5 separate regions of the Homo sapiens genome follow, and all the other regions are linked to region 3. The links are contacts of gene promoters, found by promoter capture Hi-C in blood cells and fetal thymus (Javierre and others, 2016). All regions are on one chromosome and are shown on one strand. Each heading gives the region's core, a stretch centred on a gene start or on the middle of the fragment in contact. The rest is flanking DNA. Distances are from core to core; before and after follow the strand shown. Region 1 has its middle 160 kb from the start of DIO2-AS1. Region 2 overlaps SEL1L (SEL1L adaptor subunit of SYVN1 ubiquitin ligase). Region 3 holds the start of TSHR (thyroid stimulating hormone receptor). Region 4 overlaps SEL1L (SEL1L adaptor subunit of SYVN1 ubiquitin ligase). Region 5 has its middle 24 kb from the start of SEL1L.

Region 1 (5,147 bases), core at 1,145-3,644, 900 kb before region 3:
AAAAGCACCATCAAGATAGTATGCCATAGAATGGGAGCAAATATTTGCAACACAAATATCAAACAAAAGACTCATATCAATAATATATAAAGAATTCTTACAATTCAAAAATTAATTATACAATCTGATAAAAATACAGGCAAAAGATTTGAACAGATACTTTATGAAATAAGATAATCAAATGGCAAAATTTCACATGAAAGATACTTAACATCATTAGTAGTCAGAGGAACACAAACTGAAAACAAAATGGGATATAATTATGTGCTCGTTAGATTGCTTAAAATTGAAGTGACTGAATATAACAAGTGTTGACAAGGTAGTGGAGCAACTAGAACTCCTAAACACTTCTGTAGAAAATGCAAAATGGTAAAACCACTTTAGAAACCAGTTTGTTAGTTTCTTATAAAATTAAACATAATTTTAATTTGATCCACTACCATATGATGTAGGCATTCCACTCCTAAGTATTTACATAACAGAAACAAAACTTATAATCTACCCCAAGACTGGTGCACAAATGTTTATAGTAACTTTATTTTTAATAGTCCCAAATTGGAAATATCCACATGTCCATCAACATGTTAACAAATAAACAATTTGTGCTATATCCACATGAAAGAATACTCCTTAGCAATAAAAATAAACCATTGATATACACAACATGGATAAATCTTGAAATCATGATGCTAAGTGAAAGCATGAAAAAAAGAGAATGTGAGATATTTTATACAAAATTCTAAAATGTAAACTAATTTATGGTGATGGTAAGCCGGTCAATGGTTGCTTAGGGATAGGAGTAGTTGGAGGACAGATTACAAAGAAGTATGAAGAAACTTTTGGCAGTGGTATAAATATTTGTTTTGTTCATTATGATTTTGCAGGTGTTTGCATATATCAAAACTGATTAAATTGTATTTTTAAAATAGTTGGGTGTCTATATTATTCTTTCATTATGTATCAATAAAGCTCTACAAATTCAGAAAAATTATTTATTATCTCTTTCCACAGAAGCAGCCTAAAACAATGACAAACTCAGTTGTGATGAGAACCCCTAACAACCACTAGAGGAAATCATGGCTCCTTGGGAACAATAGTAGGTTTCAGGTCTGGAGCAGAAACTGAATGTTGAGCATAGATCATGTTATCATACCAGGGAGCAAGAAAGCTGCTATAGTCTGACTGTTTGTGTTTGCTCAAAATATATGTTGAAATTATAACCCCAAAGGTAATGGCATTAAATGTTGGGTCTTTGGGAAATAATTAGGATTATATGAGGTCATAAAGATGCAATCTTTATTAATGAGATTAGTGCCCTTATATGTCCCAAGAGAAGTTGCCTCCCCACTTCCACCATGTAAGGACCCAGCAAGAAGTTGGCATCTACGAACCACAGAGCAGCCCCTCAACAAAGACTGAATTTGCTGTTGCCTTGAACTTGGACTTCCCAGTCTCCAGAATAGTGAGAAATCAATGTTTGTATTTAAACTATTCAGTTTAGAGTATTTGATATAGTAGCCCGAAGAGACTAAGAAGCTACCAAGGACTTCTACGGTCCTATCAAAAGGAACTGTAGGCTATGAAATCATAACTATACACTAAAGAAAAGTAAAAAGCCTCAAGCCTCCAGATCTATTACCAATCAATAGGGAATAGAGGGGACAGGCACCATAGTGATAGAATCAGCAAAATTCAAACTATTAGAAGCAGCTGGGTTTCTTCCACACCACAACAAAAATTAAGTAGTTCATTCATTCATTCACTGAATTACAAAAAAGAGCAGCAACTATATATTATATATATATATATATATATACACACACACACACACACACACAAAGTGATTATTAATTAATTGAAATGTATAGGCCAGGCTTTTTAAGGATTCTAATTTTAACAATGAATTGAACCAAAAGATTCTAAGATATTTGGGGAAATGTACACACTGCTTGGATATTTGATGATATTGAGAAATGACTGCTTATTTTGTGAAGTAGCAATTATGAATAAAAACAGAATACTAATCACTTACTAGACCAACCTCCTGAAATATTTGAAGATGAAATGTTAGATTAAAGCATTTAGCTAAGCAGAAAGATTTTGCTAGTCAAAAAGAAGAGCTTTGTGTAAGTGGAGTTGCCCAAAGATGGAATGGAGTGTCTTGACAAATAGTATGCACTTTATCACAGGTGGATAAGCAATCAGGGTTTGATGACCCCGGTAGAGAATATTGAGGAAGGACTTCTGGCAGTGTGTTAAATAATATCTAAGGTTCTTCTCAGCCTCATATTTTATGATTCTAAATAGATTTTATCTGTGTACCAATAATCTTAAAACTAAAAGTGATTCCTGGGATTTCCAGGACTTCAAATAACCTTTCCCATCTCTTCTCTGTCTTACATGCTTCAGAATCGTTCATGGGTGTCCAATCTTTTGGCTTCCCTGGGCCACATTGCCACATTAGAAGAAGAATAATTGTCTTGGGCCACACATAAAATACACTAACACTAAAGGTAGCTGATGAGCTAAAAAAAAAAAAAAAGATTACTAAAAATTCTCATAATGTTTTAAGAAAGTTTATAAATTTGTGTTGCACCTCATTCAAAGCCATCCTGGGCCGCATGGAGCCTGTGGGCTGCAGGTTGGACAAGCCTGATATAGAGAGATTAAATAAATTGGTCAGGGTCACACAGCTAATAACGATATGTTCTTTCCATCACATCACATTGTAAATTTCTTCTGGCATTGTTTGGCAAGTCATTGGCCTCGTGGATTTTAATGTTTAATTATAATACATTCTGGTCATTCATGTTCTGTTTTATTTGCTTTGCTGATTATTGTTCTCCTTATCATCATCATCATCATCACCATCATCATCATCATAGTTATTAAGTATTTATATTTTTCCATGATTGTTATAAAGGTAGCCATGACTTAAATTTAAATAAATAGTATTTTATCCACCTTTTGTTTACTACTTGAACCTCAAATTTGTAAGACTGCTATTTCAAAAAATAATAATATATCTTTTAGGAAGAGGACTTTGTGGGATTTTTTTAAAGGATATCTACTACCTTTTCAGCTATATGATTTCTTTTTTCCAAAAGAAAGTGTGATCTCTTTAGTAAGTACCACATATCCTCCAATTTCCTTAATAATCTCAGGTGCCTGTCTAGCTGATTTATAATTATGCAAGTTTTCCAAGTTCTCTATTCCCTCACCTGATTTTTGCCAATAGCTATTTGGCAACGTTTATATCCTAATAGTCCAAATTTGTTGCTTCATTTTTCCTGTTAAAAGCAGATTCGAAGCATGAGTTCAGTGTCTCAGCCATTTTAGAATCATCCTCAATTTCATGTCTACGCCTGCTGATTGGCAGCCTTGATTTCTCCTGGTTGTTCAATGTCCCTGGACGTATTTATTAACGCCTTCTTTTGTACTTTGAAACCCATTTTAGCACTAATCATTTCACTACCTTTGTCTTTTCTCTACCAAGTTTTAACTGATGTGGAATATTTTTACTCTATGCTCTTCTTTTTAGGCATGTCAAGCAAGAATTTTGCTCTCTCATCAGTCCTCTGTGATAGTACATTGAATGTGTCATGCAATTAGCATTGCTGTTTTTCAGAAGAATTGAAGCACTATCCTGATAATTTGGTTCTGAGCTTCACTTCTGCCTGAAATGTCTAGATAATTGCAGCATATGTGGGTGTTGTGAGGTTTTTTTCTGCTTGAATTATCCAAATAATTGCTTTAATTCTCCACTTTGCCTTACATATAGAGACACAAAGAAAGTGGATCAAGAAAATGGAGGAACCACGGGAATTTTTTTGTGGAATCCTTATTCTGTGCAAGGCTATGATCTGATTGCCTTCTCTTCTGAAAGGAAGTGCCTTCTGGTCACCAATATGTCACTTGCCTGGTATCTCTATTTTGAGTATTTCTCTCTGTGTGAACTGCTGCTTAGCTGGCCAGGACTCAAATGGTTTCTTACATAACCCAGGATATTTTCTTAGATTCTCTTCTATGAGTCAGTGAATCATAATATTCAGGGCATATCAGAGATAAAAGAAGTCCAGAACATCAACCACCTCTCAACCTCTGACCACTGACCCCACCATTATATAGATGTAGTCATTGAGACCTAAAGGGGTAATGTAAATATATACGCTTTCATAGAAAATCGGTGCAGAAGCAGGAACAAACAAACACAGGATGTATGCTAACTGTGGACCAAAAACAAAATGAAAACTCCAAAACTGATTTTACTTATCTTTTCCCTAAATGCAAATAAAGCTCACAATATCAGTTGAGTCATCTATAAAACATGATTTAGGGAAAACTGGACGAGTGACAACAGAGGCTCTCTCCATCTCTTCCCAAGGCGGTACTCTCCCCTCTTTTGTTGAGTAATGTAGGGTAGAGAAAAAAATAAAACAGACCTACATAATTCCTCCAGAAAAGGGGACGGCACCTGAAAGCAAGAAGTATGTCTCCTTCCTCTTCTTCATCCTCTGCAGAGTTGTTCAAGAAGTCAGCTCTCAGGCACCAGCTAAAACTCTGGAGCCAGCACAACTCCAATTTTGGAAACTACCATTATGGAAAGAAGAAAGTGAGCACAGCCGTGAGAGGTCTATGGCTCCGAATATGGAACTCTTCATCCTCTCAAACCTTTCTCCAGCTTCCATAGAAGACTTCATCTTCTTATCTCTATTATCATTTTCCTGCTCAGTGAAAGTTGCTCTTCTACCTCCACCCCCAGGCCTGGGGTGTGTGTGTGTGTGTGTGTGCTCCTTTGCAACTCAGCTCTAGGTGTCCAAGCAAAAGCTTGAGTTTTGCCGTCTCTTCCTTCAGCTTGGGATTCCTGTGGAAGGAATTGCTGACAGTGAACACTGCCCACCACTAGAGAGCAGTCAAAGCCAACATTTTCCTGGGCAAAAACTTCTAAGAAGTTGTTTTCAAAGGAGCCAGGTTCTCTTGGTCCTCTCTTTCCCTCTCTCATCTTTCTCAGGGCGGAGCACCCTGTCGGTCTCCTTCACAAAGGCATATTCTACATGTCTATTTAGACATTATGGGCGCAATGAACACTGTGTTAATTCTGCCAGAGAAGCCATTGTCAAAAACGTTTGTTCTTGAAATCTTCATGT
Region 2 (4,651 bases), core at 1,801-4,300, 530 kb after region 3:
TCTATAACACGTTTGTAGGTACAGGTGCTAAATTTTTCTGGAAAAAAAATGACAAGAAACCACTAATTGTGTTCTCTGGGGAAGAATCTGGGATGGGAGATTTGTGTTCTTCTGTACTGTTTGACTTTCTTATGATCGATACTTATTAGTCTTATACTCTCTTTTTCTTTTTAGTTGGAATAACTAGGTGGTAGGATTATGGGGCGTTTTTACTGTCTTCTTTATACTTCTGTATTAAAAAAAACAGCAAAGATACAATATACCCAGTACAGCATATTATAAGATGAAGTCCTAGACTATAACCAACAGTTAGTAATAAAAATTGTGAGAGATAAAGGTCTGAAATGGTACTGAAAGAGAAAGAGGAGGCTGCCACACGATCAGCTTTTAATTAAAGGAACAAAGATTGTTTCAATTGGCAGCGGTTACAGCACACCTGACTCATGCTACCATGCAATTATAGCAACTGACATTACACATGTGGAAGCGACTGGGAGGCCAGAGTCCCACAAGACCAGTGCTCTGGAACCCTATCTGTGGAGGACTTCAGCTGCATGGACTAGACAAGTCCATTTCTTTTCACTGATGCTGGAGCAGCATGGACTACATTTATACCTGTGACACACATGAGGGAAAGCCCATTCTTGAATCTAAAACTGAAAGACATTAACAAAAGGGTGAAACATCATCCTTTTCTGGTCCTGAAGAAACTTTCCTTGTCCTGAATAAGCCTATGTTAGAAACAAGGGCTCTGAACATCTTAGGGCTTTCAGAGTGAAATGCTCTACCAGTTAATCCATTCTAGGAACTATAGTACTGGAAACAAAATATAAAGCTGGCAGAACCCAAGAGTACCTACATACCAGTATTGCCAACTAAAGTTGGTAATTTTGAAGAAAATGGGTAACCCACTTCCTATATAGGTTCTTCCATTAGCCTATTTAAATAATTCACGCTATTTTTAGAGAAGAAAATTTGGGTGGTGTTTTCAACTTAATGCTTCACTATCGGAAGAATCTGAAGTACAACAACCTGGGGAGGTTCTCAGATTCTTCTTTTTTTTTTCCTTTTCTTTTTAAGGGACTGGTTTGAGTCATCTGATTTAATGTTTACTGAATTAAATACTGTTTCAAACTGCCATGAGTTAGTCTCAGTTTTCCCTAAACCAGAAAACATCTGCCTCCATGAAAAATGCTTTAGCGTCAGGAAGTGTCAAACGCTACCTAAAAACTGCAGTAGCTGCTTTATGCCTGCATTTATCCCTCCCCTGATAAGGTCCTCGGGTACCTGAGCTGAGGAGAAGGGAACACACCCGATACCTGCAGGACCACTCTTCCCTGTGCTTCTCAACTTTTGAAAAACAAACCTCCAGGACAGACCTTCCATCATTTATATTTTAATGAAAAGAGGTACGGACCACTTACGTTTGTTTCCCGTATGTACTGCAAGAAATAGACGACGCCCAATTTGCAGAGGGCTAGGAAGACTGGAACTTGTGCATCTGGGCTGGCTTCAGCTGCCATGTCATAAAAACGTTTCGCAAGGTGAATATCCTATAATACAGGTAAGAAACAAAAATGCATTTCTTGTCAAAATAAGTAAAAATATTTAGTGAACATATTAGACGAATTTATTTTACCTTTGAGGTTTTCATTTTAAAATGAGTTTCCCTCACCTAAACAAAAATGCCAAGCTTTACTTGGGTAAAATTCGTTTAATTATCTAACTGCTTAATATTGAAAAACTTAATTAAAAAACTCATTTTCCCCCAACATAACATCTAATTTGCTGTGTAGATATGCTGCATACAGCCATATATCTATGCATTAACACTGTTAACCTAGAGATTTCCAAGGGCGACTTCTGAAACTCACACTAATTTTTTGCTACTTAAAACTTCAATCAGTATTAGCAACGTCTGGTTTCAGTTCTGGACAGTGATCTTCAAAGTGGGGTAGAAACACTCAAGATTTTACAACAGATGACAGGCACGGTGGCTCATTCTTTTTTATTTTTTTTTTGAGACAGAGTCTTGCTGTCACCCAGGCTGGAGTGCAGTGGCGCGATCTCGGCTCACTGCAGGCTCCGCCCCCCAGGGTTCACGCCATTCTCCTGCCTCAGCTTCCCGAGTAGCTGGGACTACAGGTGCCTGCCACCTCGCCCGGCTAATTTTTTGTATTTTTAGTAGAGACGGGGTTTCACCGTGTTCGCCAGGATGGTCTCGATCTCCTGACCTCGTAATCCGCCCGCCTCAGCCTCCCAAAGTGGGCTCATTCTTATAATCCCAACACTTTGGGAGAGCGAGGCAGGAGGATCACTTGAGGCCAGGAGTTCAAGACCAACCTGGGCAACATAAACTGTCTCTACAAAAAATAAGCCAAATTAGCTGGGTGTGGTGGCGCCTGCCTGTAGTCCCAGCTACTTGGGAGGCTGAGTGGGAGGACTGCTTGAACCCAGGAGGCAGAGGTTGCAGTGAGCTGAGATGGTGCCACTGAACTCTAGCCTGGGTGACAGAGTGAGACCCTGTTTCCAAAAAAAGAAACAGATTTTACAAGAGGTACTTGCATGGACATGTTAAGGGACTCGATTCTGCAGTTCTGCAGCTTCCATATGTGCTTTTTCCTGAAAGGGATCTGCTGAGAATAGGCCTGTATGCACAGCAACGTTTCTCTGCTTCGCTTTGCTAAAGGAAGGCACAGCCCTTATCTACCCCACTCTTTCCTCCAGTGCATTGTCTTGGGGTGTAAAAACCTCAGGGGCTACCACCGGAAGAGATCTACCCCACTCTTTCCTCAAGTGCATTGCCCTGGGGTGTAGAAACCTCAGGGGCTACCACCGGAAGAGATACCTTGAAATACTGGTTCTGGAGAAGGCTCCTTTATTGACTAATTATAAACCCTTATTAGGGCATCTTGTGTTTCCCTGTGTTAGATATATTTCTGTAAAGGGTGAAACCAGGCATTCTTAATTTTGGCCCAGGCTGGAGTGTTCTGAATTCAGATATGTAATAGAATGGGATGGTGGGAATTTTCACTTAAAAATCTCACTTCTACTCCCTATTATCAAAGAATACCAAACTCTTAAGAAAGAATTCCATGAGATATGAGGAAGAAAGGTTAAAGACCAAAAATGACTCCCCCTCCAAACATATTTAAATACAAGCAGTTATTTTCAGCTATTCCTTATTCTTGTCCTTAGGGTGTGTCATTATTTAAAAAGAAGAGCATCTTCAAATAATGCTAACAGTATGGTTAGTGTCTGAGTTTTTAGAAAAATATAACTCAAATGGTTTTTTCGACTGCTATATTTTTCAAGATCATGGATCAAACTTCATGTGATTCATACATTGGATGATTCACTAGGGTAATTAAATAGATTCACTAGTATGTAATTAAAACTTATCAAATAATATGATGATTTTTTCCAATTATAGTCAATCCTCATATTTAATATTTTCCTAACTATATTAAATGGGGGATTGTTTTTAGTAGCATGAATATTTTAAACCTCAAAAGAAAAAAAGTAGAAAAGGTGATCACGATGTCTTATAAAAAAAGTAATGGGACCGCGTGCAGTGGCTCACGCCTGTAATCCCAGCACTTTGGGAGACCGAGGCAGGTGGCTCATGAGGTCAGGAGTTCAAGACCAGCCTGGCCAAGATGGTGAAACCCCGTCTCTACTAAAAATACAAAAATTAGCCGGGCGTGGTGGCAGGCGCCTGTAATCCCAGCTACTCGGGAGGCTGAGGCAGGAGAATCGCTTGAACCCAGAGGGCGGAGGTTGCAGAGAGCCAAGATTGTGCCACTGCACTCCAGCCTGGGCAACAGAGTGAGACTCCATCTCACCGAAAAAAAAAAAAAGTAATGGAGTTACTGATTTTCATACATGATTATTTATTTTCATAAATGATTATTTATTCTCAAAAGCTAAACAAAAGTTCCCTCCCCCTACTCTTATCAAAGGAGTACTATGCCTTTTATCATATTCTTTATTCACAAGAATTTCTATTATTAGCTATACAGTGTATTACAAATTAAATTAGAACACATTTTCTTGTTTTATAAGCTATTATAAAAACAGATTAGTTATATCATTTTAATTTTGACTACAGTCAGTAAATTATTACTAGATGTACTCCATGAAAGCCATAACTTACATGTGATCTTTATATTAGTCATGTTAAACTTCACTTGAATTAAAAATAAAGTCAGCTGGGTGCAGGGGCTCATACCTGCAATCCCAGCACTTTTGGAGGCCAAGGCGCTTAAGTCCCCAGGGGTTTGAGACAAGCCTAAGCAACATAGTGGTACCCCATCTCCATTTAAAAAAAACGACAAAAATCCGTCAGCCTTTCTGATAGAAGCTAAGTCTAATTTGGGACACTGGATGACTGGTTTGACAATAAAGAGAAGCTTCAGTTACTACATTAAGTGGCAGAGATCTTCCAGAAGTTGAATGTACTGAGTTTGCTGCTCCTGAGCCTTGACTGAACTATATTTAAGTATCTAATATTAGTAATATTCTAAGTATTAAGGTAAGTTTAAAATATAAATATTTACATACTGAAATTAAAAGAAAATGTCCAAATGTGAACAAAGCAGCAGCATTTTGTCAAGAAAATACCGCATTAGCAAAAATGAACAACTTTCCC
Region 3 (5,117 bases), core at 1,985-4,484:
AAACCACATGCTTCTAAAGAATCAAGGAAGAAATCTAAAAGAAAAACTAAAAAGTATTTTAAACTGAATACAAATGAAATTACAAGATATCGAAACCTGTGGGATGTCTCTAAAGTAGTATAGGGAAAGTCTACAGCACTACACACATACAATATTATAAAAGAAAAATGGCCTCAAATCAGTGACCTCAGTCTTAAGAAACCTCACCTTAAGAAGTAAAGAAGAGCCAATTAAACCCCAAGTAGGCAGAGTAATAAAATAATAAAGATCAGAGCATATATCAATGAAATAGAGCACAAAAAAAAATAGAGAATCTAAGAAACAAAAATTTGCTTCTTTGAGAATATGAATAAAATTGATAACCCTCTGGATAAAGTACTTAGGTGAAAAAAAGAAGATACAAATTATCAATATCAGGTATGACAGAGTTGACATCAGAATAGATTATATAAATATAAGAGGATAAGAGAATATTATGAACAAACTCATGCCAATAAATTCAACAATTTAGATGAAATAGACAATTCATTATATGACACAAACTGCCCAGGCTACCTCAAGAAGAATTATATGACTTGAATAGCCCTAAATCTATGTTTAGAAACTGGATTTATAGTTAAAAACCTTCCAATAAGGAAAATGCAAGGTTCCAACAGCTTCACTGGAGAATTCTACCAAATAAGTAAGAAAGGAATGATATCAGTTCTACACAAACTCCTATAGAAATTTAAAGAGGAAGGAATATTTCCCAACTTATTCTGTGATGGAAGAATTAATTGCCCTCATACCAAAATTTGACAAAGAAGTTACAGAAAAGAAAATAACAGACTACTATCCCTTGTGAACGTCTATGTAAAACTTTTAAACAGAATTTTAGCAAATCCAATGAAGGAGTATATTAAAAAGATGATAAACACGGCCGGGCACGGTGGTGCATGCCTGTAATCCCAGCACTTTGGGAGGCTGGGGCGGGCGGATCACGAGATCAGGAGTTCCAGACCAGCCTGGCCAACATGGTGAAACCCCGTCTCCACTAAAGACACAAAAAATTAACCGGGCGTGGTGGCGGGCGCCTGTAATCCCAGCTACTCTGGAGGCTGAGGCAGGAGAATCCCTTGAGCCCGGGAGGCGGAGGTTGCAGTGAGCCAAGATCGTGCCATTGCACTCCAGCCTGGGCGACAGGGCGAGACTCCGTCTCAAACAAACAAACAAAAAAAGGATAAATACATCATGATCAAGTGAGATTTATCCCTGCAATTCAAGGTGGGTTTAACATTCGAAAATCGATCACTATGATTCACCACATTAATAAACTACCATGGAACCATCACCACGAACAAGATTTAAAACAGTTTTATTACCCACAAAATTCTCTGGTGTTCATTTGTAGTCAGCCCTACCCTAGGCCTTTGCAACCGCTGATCTTTTTCCTGTCCCTATGGTTTTGCCTTTTTGAGAAAGCTATATAAATGAATCATTAATATGAATAATTACATATAAATACGTAATATTTTGAGTTTGGCTTTTTTCACTTAACATTATGCATTCAAGATTTGTTCCATAACAATACCATGGTAATTTTTAAAAAAACAACAACAAAAGCCCGGGTGCGGTGGCTCAAGCCTGTAATCCCAGCACTTTGGGAGGCCGAGGCGGGCGGATCACGAGGTCAGGAGATCGAGACCAGCCTGACTAACACAGTGAAACCCCGTCTCTACTAAAATTACGAAAAAATTAGCCGGGCGTGGTGGCGGGCGCCTGTAGTCCCAGCTACTCGGGAGGCTGAGGCAGCAGAATTGCTTGAACCTCGGAGGCAAAGGTTGCAGTGAGCCGAGATCGCGCCATTGCACTCCAGCCTGGGCGACGGAGCAAGACTCCGTTTCAAAAGAAAAAAAAAAAGAAAAGAAAATTTGTGCATGTTGTATCAGCAGTTCATTCATTTTTATTGCAGAATAGTATTCCAATGTGGAGGTATCAGAGTTTGTTTATCCATTATCTAGTCGCGAGACACTTGGTTCGTTTAGTGGTTATGAATAAAGCTTCTGTAAAATTTGGAATACACATATTTTAAATGTACGGTTTAATGAATTTTGATAAATGTATACATCCACTTAACCTCCAGCCTAATTACGATATGGAAACCCTGTGTGTTCCCTCCTGTCTTTTTCTAGTCAATCTTTCCTAACCTTTATTCTGATTCCCATAACCACAACTTTTTCCTTCCTGTCCTAGCCAAGTTCATATAAAAGGAATTATGCAGTATAGAAGGAATTGACATTCCTTTTATCCCAAGAGGAATAAGTGATTGAAGACTTTTAAGAAGGAAATAGGCACAATCTGATTTATGTTTGTAATGATCTTTTTGGCTACTGTGCGAAGAATGGTGAGTATGCCACTTAAGTATTATTTTTCTTCCCATCTTCCAGGGGGAATATGACTCAATGAAATTCTTGGGTCGACCAGAATTTCCATACTGGACCCATTATTAAGGGAACCTGGAATTATTTCTGCCATTCCCGATTCTTCCCAGCAGATGGCCCCAAAGTTCAGTTCCTGAATTGCCTCGCGGAGCCGCGGGCTGCAACGTGAGGCGGCCGCTGCCAGTCGACTCAACCACCGGAGTGGCCCCTGCAGTTGGATAGCAACGAGAATCCTCCAGGGGTGCAGGGCGACGGCTTCGGCCGCACCGCGGGCTAGCCAGGGCTGCGTGCCCGCCTCTGACCCTCAGCAGAGGTGTCTCTGGCCAGGAGGAGCTGAAGTTCTGCAGGACATTGGTCCGCCCGCGGACAGTCCACTCCGCGGGGACTTTCTCTGGATAAGGAGTGCGTGCGAGTGGCTCCCAGGCAGACAGGGTGTCTAGAAGGCTACACGCTAGGGAAGGTGGCTCCTTGGATTTAAAGAGGAGGAAAGGAGGGGGCATCTAAACTAGGCTTTGGAGAGAACTAATGGGAGGGGCGCCCGGGGTGGGGGGGCGGGCTGGAAAACAGAGGGGACAGCCAGGACTGGTGTTGGGTGTCAGGGAACAGACGGAGCGGACTGCGTGGGTCCAGCCAAGGAAAGTGAAGCAAGCAGACTTGTTTGGGTCAAGGTTGCCTAGGGAAGCGGAGCACTTAAGTGCCTCTTTTTCCCCTTCTCCAGCCTCCTCCACAGTGGTGAGGTCACAGCCCCTTGGAGCCCTCCCTCTTCCCACCCCTCCCGCTCCCGGGTCTCCTTTGGCCTGGGGTAACCCGAGGTGCAGAGCTGAGAATGAGGCGATTTCGGAGGATGGAGAAATAGCCCCGAGTCCCGTGGAAAATGAGGCCGGCGGACTTGCTGCAGCTGGTGCTGCTGCTCGACCTGCCCAGGGACCTGGGCGGAATGGGGTGTTCGTCTCCACCCTGCGAGTGCCATCAGGAGGAGGACTTCAGAGTCACCTGCAAGGATATTCAACGCATCCCCAGCTTACCGCCCAGTACGCAGACTCTGTGAGTACCCGGGAGAGATCAGGGTAGGACCCAGAGATCAAGGGCATCTGCAGAGGTGGCCCGAAGTGCACAAAAGCAGCTCAATAACAGCCCGAAGTAGTGTGTGAGTGTGTGTATGTGTGAGTGAATGTCTGTGTGTGTAGATGTGTGTGTGTGCTAAAAACTTAATCGCCCACACTTGGGAAGGTATCATTGTTGACATCCTCATTCCCAACACAGGAAAATGTTACAAAACTTTGGTGTACAATGACCGTGAGAGCTGTTCTTTCCAACAAGCTGCTATTCAGCACTTTGCCTAACCCTGGTTGAATCTGTTTTATTTGAATTAATAAGGATAATGGCATCTCAGGAACTGACCTTTTTGATCTTACCTTGGGTAATAAAAAATTGCAAAAATATGTATTTCTCCTTTTTGTTTCTCTAGATGGGAGGTTATCTTAGCAGTTCTGCTGATTCATCAAATTGTTGACAAAGGTTTAAGCAGGGGCCCTTTTTAAAATGAACTGTCTATACAGTATCTGTAAGTTACTTACTCAAATGTGAACTGCCAGTGAAATAGTACGTCCAGAACCCTGCTTTGTGATAGAGGTATAAAGAAATGAAATTTCATAAAAGTATAGTACATTTATCTGCATGTTAAATGTTACCAGATTAGAAACCTGATGTTAAATAAGATTATACACACACAACCTGTTTCTTAACAGCAATTTAAATCAGTGATCATTGAAATTGTAGACAAAACCAAGGGAATAAAGTCTGTCTTGATTAGTTAAAAAGAGAACAGAAAGAAAGGACAGTAAAACAACCTAGGCTGGTTAAATCCAGTTAAGATAAAAAAAAATGCAGGTTATTAAAGAAAATGTTGATAGATGAAAAGAAATGGGAAAGTTGCACCTCTAGATTTTCTCAAGAATTTAGCTCATGAAGACTATTTAACAGTAGATGAATATTTGAGCACAGAGATATATTTCTGTGCTCAGAGATATCCTAGTGTCTTAGCACACCTGAATTAATTAGTTCAATAACCTCCAAACAGTGTGGTAGTCATTCTCCATGCTGCCACCACAGAATAAGATGTGTAAAAGGTGTAATGGCCTCTTGATTACACCTCTACATAGGTTGCTTGTCACCTCTAGAATAAAATTCTTTTGTGCAGCCTACCAGATCTTTCAAGACCTAGTCAAGTCTTTCCAACCTCATTGCTCCTCATTTCTCTAACTTCCCCCTCCTGCTGAGAACTTCTGGCACTTCCCCAAAGGTCCCTGCTGTTACAGCTGCCCTTGCCTTTCTTCCCACTTTCTGGCCCCTCTGCCTGAAGCACATTTCACCCATTTCTTCACCCAGCTAATGCCTACTCCCAGATCCAGATCCTGGATCAACCCTGCAGGAAGCTTCTCCTGACCCATGACCTTCAGGCTGGGTAAGCTATACCCCCCTTCCCAACAGCGTTCTCTGCATGAACCTAACCCTAGCCCTTAGACATTGTCTACTTTCTTGTAACTTGTTATTTATTTGCATGCCCACTCAAGCAGGACACAAGCTTCTCTAACATAGGGAACTGCCATTCAACCCCGAATTCCTGAAACCCTGGAACTACTTAGACACTCAGAAAAAACAAAAAAAAAAAAACTTAAGTGAATAAATAAACAAATG
Region 4 (5,209 bases), core at 634-3,133, 540 kb after region 3:
AAATACAAAAATTAGCTGGGTGTGGTGATGGACATCTGTAATCCCAAATACTTGGTAGGTGAGGCAGGAGAATTGCTTGAACCTGGGAGGCAGAGGTTAAGGTGTGCCGAGATCGTGCCACTGCACTCCATCCTGGGTGACAGAGCAAGACTTTGTCTTAAAAAACAAACAAATGAATAAACAAAACAAAAAACAAAAACACAAAGTATCCTGCTAAAGTGGAAGTGAAATAAAGGCATTTTCACATAAATTAAAACTGAATTTGGGCCGGGCGCGGTGCCTCACGCCTGTAATCCCAGCACTTTGGGAGGCCGAGGCGGGCAGATCACGAGGTCAGGAGATTGAGACCATCCTGGATAACATGGTGAAACCCTGTCTCTACTAAAAATACAAAAAAATTAGCCGGGCATGGTAGCGGGTGCCTGTAGTCCCAGCTACTCGGGAGGCTGAGGCAGGAGAATGGCATGAACCTGGGAGGCGGGGCTTGCAGTGAGCCGAGATTGCACCACTGCACTCCAGCCTGGGCGAGAGCGAGACTCCGTCTCAAAAAACAAAAACAAAAACAAAAAAAAAACTGAATTTGTCCCCAGTGAACCTGCTCTAAAGGAAACACAAATGGGTGCTCTTCAGAAAAAAGGAAACTTACTAGAAGCTGGGAGATACAGTAAGAAATAAAGAGCTGGCTAGGTGTGGTGGCTAATGCCTGTAATCCCAGCCTTTGGGAGGCTGAGGTGGGTGGGATCACTTAGACCAGGAGTTCAAGATCAGCCTGGCCAACATGGTGAAACTCCATCTCCACTAAAAATACAAAAATTAGCTGGGTGTGGTGGTGCATGCCTGCATTCCCAGCTACTTGGGGAGGTTAAGGCACAAGAATCGCTTGAACCCGGGAAGCGGAGGTTGCAGCGAGCTGAGATAGTGGCACTGGGCAACAGAGCAAGGATCTGTCTCAAAAAATAAAAAATAAAAAAATAAATAAAAAGCAATGAAAAGGTAAATTTGAAAATAAATGTAAATTAATATGGACTGTACAAAACAACAGTATCTCATGGTACCAAAATATATAAAATCAAACACACACAGAATACTCTGAGATCTCTGTGCTGTCCTGGAAATGGTAAAAGTGCTCATCGTACCAGACTTTGGTAAGTCAAGGATGCATGTTGTGATCGCTAGATAACCACTACAAGAGTAGCATCATGCTGGCAGAGGGGAAGAGATGCAACAGGAAAAAGCACTCAACCAAAAAAGGGCAAGAAAGGAGAGAAGAGTAAACACAACAAGCAAGATACACAGAAAGCAAGTAAAACAGAAAATTTTAAGTAAACTAAATTTTACAATAATGTAAAAATAAGATGTTTAATTGAACAAGTTTATTATAATTTCTATCAGCTAACATTTAGATCTACGTTTCACTACGTTTTTTTTTCCTTAAGACTCCACTGCTAGTCTTAAAACCAACTGTTCTTAATAAGTATCTAATGCTCATCTGTACATGTCCTAAATTAGAAATAATTGCAAACTTAGTGGAAAAAAATATAAATGTTAAAGTTCTTTTTATTTTAATATCAAAAGAAGCCACGAAACCTGTGTGTGCACACATGGTACTTTGACGGACATTATACAACTTCCATTAAACGAGCTTACTTCTGTTCTTGACCTTGAAGAAATTATGATTTTAGATGAGCCAAAGAAACACGAATGGTAAATAGCTCTGAAGAGCATCTGATATTGCAAATATTCCAGGGACTTCTTGTTTAGAGAAAGTGACAGTTTTCATCATTGGTGACTCCAGTAACAGCCTTCATCATCGGTGTTAATGCTGCTCTGTTCAAGCAGTGATTTTTTTAGGGGCAGTACACGGGAGAGTCACCTGGACAGTTTTAGGAACCCTCAATGCCTAGGCCCCATCCCACACTAACCCAAATGGAATCTCCTGAGAGTGTGAGACTCTTGGTTTTTTTTTTTAAGGGGCTCAGGTGATTCTAATATGTAGTTCATAATTGCTCAGGGCAATGAAAATGTAACTTACAGATATAAGTGCTTGCTCCCGTCCCCCACAGATTAAAATATACAATGCAGTAAAGATATTTGGTGAGATGTTCAAACACGTACCTGTGCTTGTACATCACCTTTTTCAGCTAGGAACTGGTAATATTGAATCAAATCTTCTTCTAGCATTCCACTGTTCATTCCTGGATTTTCCACTTCATCAGGCAGCCGTATTCTCTGTACTACTGAGCCTCCTGTTAGCGAGATATCACTAGCAACTGAAATAGAGGGATAAAACAATAAGGTGGAGGAAAATCAGAAGAATTGTTCCAGAGAGAGAGAAGTACAATTCCAGCTGCCAAACGTTGACGAACACATTGTTAAAGGAAGCTGTTTTTACAGTAGTCTATATAGATCGCAAATCAGTAATCTATTAATAAATTGAACTTTTTTCACAACGTAAATAGAACCTAAAGCAAAATTATATAAAGAAAAAAGTACTTCTGAACCTCAACTAGTTTAAAGATGAGTCCACATAAAAGAGCCATTTATAATACTTCAAATAGAACAATAAAAATAGAAATGTTTAAAGTTAATTCCATTTATTTTTTTTTCCTAAAAGGTAAAAGGGGAAACATAGATACCATGATTGGCAACAAGACGATAGTGAGTCAGGGCAGATTCACAACTCTGGAGGACGCCGATGCCAGCCCAGTATCTGTAACCCTGTAAAACAACTTCACGTGAGGAGGCAGCAGTTTCATGTACTTCAGTGTCATTCTTCGTGGAACAAATAAAGCTAAGCATACCCAGAATTTTGCTGTCATTTGATCCAAGTACACTAACACCTTATTTATGCTAAGTGTTAGGTTTTGAGGTAATGGATTCAGCAACTTCAACAAGAAGGCCATAGCTAAGAGCAAGGAAATAAATAATATAGTTCCTAGAGCAATCAAAATAGATGTCATAAACTTTATTTTTGAAGTGTGTGCATTTTACTCATAAGAGAAAAATTATAAGGGCTTTTGCTTAGAACCAGTTTTAATCTTAGACATAATTTTATTAAAAATGAGTTAATCTTCCAAATTAGCAAAGAAAAAGTAACAAATTAGCAAAATAGGGAAAATGAGACTACTGGAAGCAGGCACAGTGTCACTAGCAATAAATGACCAGAATAAATGGGAAGACAGCCAATCATGAAAAGTAAAAAACAGAAAGTAGAGCTCTCTGGAGTCATTCTGCACAAATAACTCCATGAATTTTAACAATTCTTAGGGCATTGTTGCAAAATATTGTATAATATTTCATGTTGTTTTTCTATAGCCACCATTTACAAAATTTTGAAAAACTAAAGAAAAATTTTTAAAATTATGATAATCTAATGTAAAAAATGATTCTGACAATTCCAACTCAGAGAAAATTTAAAAAGAGCCATTTATCAGATCTCTCTTTTTAGGGGCAATCAGCCAAACTAATCATTTTAAAGAAAAATTGTGGACTCCACCAACTTTCATTTACATGTAGATTCCATGTGTTATATCCATTAACAAGAATTTGAAGGAAGTTCAACTGAATATTTGGTCTTAATACAAGCAAATCTGGATCATGAAAGCTGAAAAAGTTGTGGCCGCTATAAACCACAAATTCTTCTGATGTTAATATTATTAGCCTTCCACTAAAGTCTACTTACCAAAACCATGTGGGCTATTAGATTGCCCCCAAGAGCTCCAAATGTATAATATACAAGAGCCTGTGAAAGAACAAAACATGTTTAACTGAACATAGGCACGCATTTATTCAATTCAAATTGTAATATGCAATAAAGTTTTAATAGTATTACCTTTGCCTGACTTGAATTAACACCAAGTCCAGAGGCATACAGAAAGCCAAGAGCCTGAAATAGATGATAAAAGTAAGAAATCTTGCTTTGGTGAAGGTTTATCCAAGACAGACACAGACAGACACAGTTTTATATACTATGAAAAAATGCAAGAGTCTTTAAATGCTAAAAGATTTGAATTCAAGTATGTACAAACATGGATTAAAGAGCCTTGGAAAAGCATTCAGAGTTTTACACATTACACAATTAAATTAAATGTAGCATTATTTTAAAAAAAATTTTATTTATTTGTGGCTTTTTTTTTTTTTTTTTTTTGAGACAGGGTATCACTCTGTCATCCAGGCTGGAGTGCAATGGCACGATCCTGGCTCACTGCAACCTTCGCCCACTGGGTTCAAGTGGTTCTCCCACCTCAGCCTCCCAAGTAGCTGGGACTATGTAGAGGCGTATGCCACCACGCCCAGCTAGTTTTTGTACTTTTTGGTAGAGACAGGGTTTCACCATGTCAGCCAGGCTGGTCTTGAACTATTGACCTCAAGTGATCCACCCGCCTCAGCCTCCCAAACTGCTGAGATTACAGGGGTAAGCCACTGTACCCGGCCACAATTAAATGTAACTTTATTTTTATTAATTTATTTTTTCCGAGACAGAGTCTTGCTCTGTCGCCTAGGCTGGAGACCAGTGGTACAATCTCGGCTCACTGCAGCCTCTGCCTCCCAGATTCAAGCAATTCTCCTGCCTCAGCCTCCCGAGTAGTTGGGATTACAGGTGCCGCCACCATGCCCAGCTAATTTCCTTTTTGTATTTTTAGTAGAGACGGGGTTTCACCATGTTGGCCAGGCTGGTTGTGAACTCTTGACCTTGTGATCTGCCTGCCTTGGCCTCCCAAAGTACTGGGATTACAGGCATGAGCCACCACGCCCAGCCAAATGTAACTTTAAACAAGACAAAAAGTTTAGCTTGAGGACAATTTAATACTAACTAGAAAGACAAAGCTGAATACATGTAAACATGACTTTATCTTTATGAACAGCCATTATGAAGACAACTCCCGCTATAGGTACATCAGCATATTTCTCTATATATGCAGAAAGGAATACACTATGAAAACAGACAAGATATGAATTACCAAGATAAACTATCTCAGATATAAAAAGGAGGAGCAAGGGGTCAAGCTGAAGAGGTCAAGGGAAAAAGGCTGCTCTACAATGTTAGAGCACACATGATTTTCTAAAAATAAAAACACAAAAATGGAAGAAATAATGCATTGGTGAAGTTCAACCTTTTCAACCCTTTGCCTTCTATGGATCATCCTTGATGATAGGAAAGTATAAGCTAACATGACAAAGGCAGGTGTGGCAGAGACTGGAGTGCTCA
Region 5 (5,089 bases), core at 493-2,992, 600 kb after region 3:
CCTCCACCAAGAGACACACCTGGCACACACCTGGCAGGGCCCAGGGCATGAGTACAAATGGAGGCCTATATACCATGGCTCTTACAAATTGAAAGTTATAAATTAAGCAAACAAACTGTTAAATTATGTCCTATCTACCTGCCAAAACAATACACCTTCACAAAAAAATGTACAAAGTTATATAGTCTTATATTACTGAAAATCGGCAAATATCAAAGACAACTGACTGTAATTATTGTTGCACATGCCTGGGTGTTCCCTTGATGTGTTGGGCATGTTTGGGTGAGTCATAAATTAAAGACATATGTAATTTGCAAATTGTACATTTATTCTAAAATTTTTATTTTTCTTGCCTAACGTCAGCAGTATCTCCAATTATGCTGTTTAATCAAGATTTCCACAAAATTTCTGTTCTCTTGATGGTAATGCCAAATTACATAATCTTTCTTGAGTCATTGAAATTATTATATGGTTTTAAAATTCCAACCTGGGAAACCTCTCTGCCGAGGCTGTAATGATTAAAACTGCCAATAAAGTTCTTCAGACATTACTTAAATTAAAAAATGAACCACAAATATTACTAACATGTTCAAACATTGTCATGGGATTTTGTGTGATAAACTATTTTTATCATAGAAAATACTACTACATATTTTAACTCATCTAAATTACTATTTTTATATCACAACTGTAATTGTCTCTTAATGTCTAGATCCATTCAATATTTTTTCTTTTTTTGTTTTTTTGAATAGTCCTGTTGCAATAAGTATTTTCTTCTTTTAAATTATTCAACACTATGGTATTATGAAGATAACTTGAAAATAGCAGTTTGATACTCAATTTGTTAAAATCTCTCTTCAATTAATAATATACTTCGATTTGTGATTTGCCTTTCTGAAATTTCAGAATTATTTATACATGAATCTTTTTTCATTGTCATAAAAACTTTATAATTCCCTTTTTAAAAGTTCTCTCCCCACTGAAGGAGGAAAAGTAAAATGCGTAGCTGCCTTAAATTGTGTAAGCCAATGACTGAGCCTTTGATCTTAGATTGTCTGCTGGATGGAGTTCACCTTGAACCACATGCTATGCTTACCACTCACTAATGTATGTAAGGAATTTTTTAAAGGACTTTGAAAATGAATATATTCTATCAGCTTTAAAACAAAAGTTCTCTCCCCAACACCCCCCTCCACCTTTTTTTTTTTTTTTTTTTGTGGAGACAAGGTCTTACCGTATTGCCCAGTCTGGTCTCAAACTCTTGTTCTCAAGAGTTCTTATGGCTTGGTATCCCAAAGCACTGGAATTACAGGTATGAGCAACCATGCTTGGCCTTCTTTTAAACAACTCTTTATACTTTATCTAAGCATAACCTTTGTTGCATATTTTATGCCAATTTTTTCAATTAAGAAAACAATTTCTAAAAGTAAACTATATATGTGTATATATAGTTTAATGCCTTTAACAAAGTATCAAACTAGATCTGTTTTGTTTTGTTAGTTTTTAAAAGTTAAAATTAAGCAATAGATTATACTAAATAAATGTGGATGGCACAAACTCAAAATTAATTTCATTTTTGGTGATTATTCACTCATTTGGGAATGTTATTTTGCCACACTCTCCTAGTGGATCCTAATTGTTCTAACATGTGGTCCAAATTCCCATTATGTGTCAAATGATGGTGTAGGGTCCAATTTCATATGTGTTTCATCATGCTAGTTCATTTTTGGGCTGACCCAGGAGATACTGAATTTTATCTCTGAATTGTTCCAAAGAATAGTGTTGCCATGGGTGCAGATGAGCTCATTTCTCCCAGTAATAAATTCCAACTCTGTGCATATGTAGCACAAAGAAATGCTTCTGGATTTTTGGTAAACATTCTGGCTTAATCACCTTATTCTTTGCCGACCATGTTAGTGAGATTAGGTAAGCCATGAAGTTTGCCCTCATCAATCTCTTAAATCAATGCCTAAAATTGAAAATTATTTTCTCAGCTTTTCAGTAAAGTCTAAACCTATTTTCACAACTGATGTCAACCAGTGGAATACTGTTGCGTTTTGACTTGTTTCCTTTTCTGGTAGTTCAACAACACATATAGTGAATATTACTTCATCAACATTTTGACCCTGTTACAACCTAGTTGAACTGAATAATAGTATCTTTAATTTTATTTATTTATTTATTTATTTATTTAGACAGGGACTCCCTTTGTCCGCCAGGCTGGAGCGCAGTGTTGTGATCACAGCTCACTGCAGCCTGGACCTCCCTGGCTCAGATGATTCTCCCATCTCAGCCTCCTGAGTAGCTGGGACCACAGGCATGCACCACCACACCTGGCTAATTTTGGTATTTTTTGTAGAGAGAAGGTTTCACCATATTGCCCAGGCTGGTCTCAAACTCCTGGGCTCAAGAGATCACCTGCCTCAGCCTCCCAAAGTTCTGTTATTACAGGCATGCGCCATTGTGCCCAGCCAATAGTATCTTTTTAAAAATTACATATGTTTTTTTCCTCACCTTATTACTCATTAAATTAAGAGCTTCATTTTGAATTTTCTAACCTTGAGAGTGATCATTTGCTTCATTATATTTTTGTTCATTTTAGCATCAAAATGTGAAACAATTTCTACTAAACCTAGATATTGTGCTTTTACTGACACAGAAAGCATCATTATGCATAGCAAATTTTGGGTACGTAGTGTCATCCTTTTCAGAACATCAGAGTAAGGTTCTGAGGTGGCATTTCCTTATCTTTATTGAATATGATCAATTATTCTTTATTCATCCTTTTGTTTCAGAAATTGCATTGTACTTTTTCTATGTGCAAATAACATTTTGTGACATGTAATTACATCTTCATTTGGTGAAGAATATGAGGTTGTAGGCATTTCATATGACCTGTGCAGACTGTGAATTGATAAGAATAATTTGCTAATTTTAATTTTTTAATCGCAATTAAGTCTTCATTAAATAGAGAATACGTAATATCTTGGTCAGGACTTTTCTGTGGGGCATACTTGCCAGACATTTGCTCATTTCCCTTGTTTCCAGTTTTAAAATACGTATGCAATCTGCCTCTTTGAGGAACTTCTACTTATTTTCTGGTTAGCTCATTTTCTTTCTGAGTTCCACTTTTGTATATTTTATTTCTAACATGATCTCAATGATCCAAAGCATTAAACAATAAAACTCAAAGTGTATGTAATTTAGACACACTTTTATTTAAAATGTAAGTGGAAGTAAATTTGAAAATAAAAAATTGTAATAAAATATATATATTTTAGAAAATTATATTTCTTTGGAAATATCAAAAATTATATGCTAAAATTAAAGGAGGGTATACCTTTTAATTAATAAAAACATTTTAAATAAAAAAGATTAAAATGAAGTTAAAATATTTCTACTTAATTTTTTGAAAATTTAATTAAATCACATTAAATATTTTTATAAAACTACAGTGATTTACAATTCCAAGATTCATTGTCTCTCCAGTTACCAATGTAAAGAGTCAATGTCAAGCTTTATACTTGTTGTGTCTAGACCTATTTCTATTAAGAGTAATATGAATTGTTTAATATTGCAAAATATTTTATTGCCATTATGCAACTGCTGTGAACATCATGGAAGTTGTGAGAATCTCTAGAACTGTAACTTGGAGTATTAAGTGAATAAAAAAATGGATGTTTGGCACTACTGGGAAATGATAGTATATTTTGAGAAAATCCATTACATTTCTGTTCTCTAAGAGAAATAAATCAATTTGTGTTGTCTCTTACTGAAGCAGTGTCTACCTCTGACATTGGCATCAGAGCAATTCTATTAGTCCATTCTCACACTGCTATAAATATGTGAGGCTGGGTAATTTATAGAGGAAAGAGATTTAATTGGCTTACAGTTCCACAGTCTGTACAGGAAGCATGATGCTGGCCTCTCCTCAGCTTCTGGGGGGCCTCAGGAAACTTACAATCATGGCAGAAGGCCAAGAGGAAGCATGCACATCTTACATGGCTGGAGGAGGAAGAGAGTGAGGGGAAGTGCTACACACTTTTAAGCAGCTGGATCCCGAGAGAACTCTATCATGAGAACAGCACTAGGGGGATGGTGCTAAACATGAGAAACCGCTGCCAGGATCCGGTAACCTCCCACCAGGCCCCACCTCCAGCACTGGGAATTACATTTCAACATGAGATTTGGGTAGAGACACAGATCCAAACCATATCAGCAATACAAAGCCTTTCAAGACTTCTAGACACAATTGCCTTCTGTTTCAAGGTCTTTGGAAAGAAATGTAGAATCCTTTCCCAACCCTGGCTGGTGTTGGTTATGAGTTAGGTTTAGGTTGCAGGTCACACCGAGCCAGAGTGCATTTGTGGCACTTGCAGAAGTGCATGTCCCCTAAAATATAGAGTCTAGGGTGGATCCCCTTTTGCTGAGGTCAGGGCAATCAGTACTGACACCTTGCATCACAGCAGTGTGGATCAAAGAAGATATTGAGGGTTATAAAAGTTATTTCTTTTTTGTGTTAAAAAAAGACTTGTTAAATACAAACATGGGCTGAAACTCTTATAAATTAATAGCCAACACCCAACAAACCAAACCAGATACCAAAAAAACTAGCAGAAAACCCTAACCCCCAAAACACTGTGTAAAGTTTTCTCAAGTGAAGGATAAGCGTATTCTTTTGCCAGATCAGTTGTTTTTTACAGCTCAACATCCACATGTAGCCCAAAAAAGTGTATCCAAAAATGAAAAAGAGCTTGTGCATACTATCAACAAGTGTGGTCTCCCTGTTGTACTTCATGGCGCTTATCCCAACTTGTAGTTAATTTTAAATTTATGTATCATATGTTTAGTGTTTGTTTTTCTTGTTGGAATGTGAGGAAGATAATGAAGCCTACCTTTTTCTTCCTTCTTTGAGTTCAGAATCCATTAAGAAATAAGACAGTTTGGGAGGCTGAGGCGGGCAGATTGTTTGAGGCCAGGAGTTCCAGACCAGCCTGGGCAACGTGATGAAACCCTGTGTCTACTAAAAATACAAAAATTAGCCAGGCATGGTGGTGCATGCCTGTAATCCCAGCTACTGGGGAGGCTG

The links. Contacts are between HindIII fragments. The CHiCAGO score rates a contact against its expected background, and 5 or more counts as called.
Region 1: a contact is called between a fragment that was not itself captured here and the fragment with the promoter of TSHR in region 3, in 2 of 17 cell types (megakaryocytes and endothelial precursors). The highest score is 8.4, in megakaryocytes.
Region 2: a contact is called between a fragment that was not itself captured here and the fragment with the promoter of TSHR in region 3, in 16 of 17 cell types (total CD8 T cells, naive CD4 T cells, total CD4 T cells and 13 more). The highest score is 25.9, in total CD8 T cells.
Region 4: a contact is called between a fragment that was not itself captured here and the fragment with the promoter of TSHR in region 3, in 10 of 17 cell types (total CD8 T cells, naive CD4 T cells, activated CD4 T cells and 7 more). The highest score is 10.4, in total CD8 T cells.
Region 5: a contact is called between a fragment that was not itself captured here and the fragment with the promoter of TSHR in region 3, in 3 of 17 cell types (naive CD8 T cells, total CD4 T cells and activated CD4 T cells). The highest score is 6.4, in naive CD8 T cells.

Annotation. Positions count from the first base shown.
Region 1 is chr14:80,051,484-80,056,630 of GRCh38, forward strand. No RefSeq gene overlaps it. Among named protein-coding and RNA genes, the nearest start is that of DIO2-AS1, 160 kb to the right of the region's middle. RefSeq lists a silencer at 4,743-5,037. The HindIII fragment of the contact is 4,862 bases long and covers 1-4,825 here.
Region 2 is chr14:81,478,188-81,482,838 of GRCh38, forward strand. It overlaps SEL1L (SEL1L adaptor subunit of SYVN1 ubiquitin ligase), which reads right to left. Exons shown (of 21, transcript NM_005065.6): 20 at 1,425-1,553. Among named protein-coding and RNA genes, the nearest start is that of LINC02308, 30 kb to the left of the region's middle. The HindIII fragment of the contact is 2,719 bases long and covers 1,692-4,410 here.
Region 3 is chr14:80,952,387-80,957,503 of GRCh38, forward strand. TSHR (thyroid stimulating hormone receptor) reads left to right here and starts at 3,235. Exons shown (of 10, transcript NM_000369.5): 1 at 3,235-3,464. The coding sequence starts at 3,295. It also overlaps a transcript of CEP128 not described here. The HindIII fragment of the contact is 2,816 bases long and covers 2,038-4,853 here.
Region 4 is chr14:81,495,777-81,500,985 of GRCh38, forward strand. SEL1L (SEL1L adaptor subunit of SYVN1 ubiquitin ligase) reads right to left here. Exons shown (of 21, transcript NM_005065.6): 7 at 3,833-3,886; 8 at 3,683-3,742; 9 at 2,637-2,718; 10 at 2,116-2,270. Among named protein-coding and RNA genes, the nearest start is that of SEL1L, 35 kb to the right of the region's middle. The HindIII fragment of the contact is 8,034 bases long and covers 1-5,209 here.
Region 5 is chr14:81,555,612-81,560,700 of GRCh38, forward strand. No RefSeq gene overlaps it. Among named protein-coding and RNA genes, the nearest start is that of SEL1L, 24 kb to the left of the region's middle. The HindIII fragment of the contact is 3,544 bases long and covers 1-3,514 here.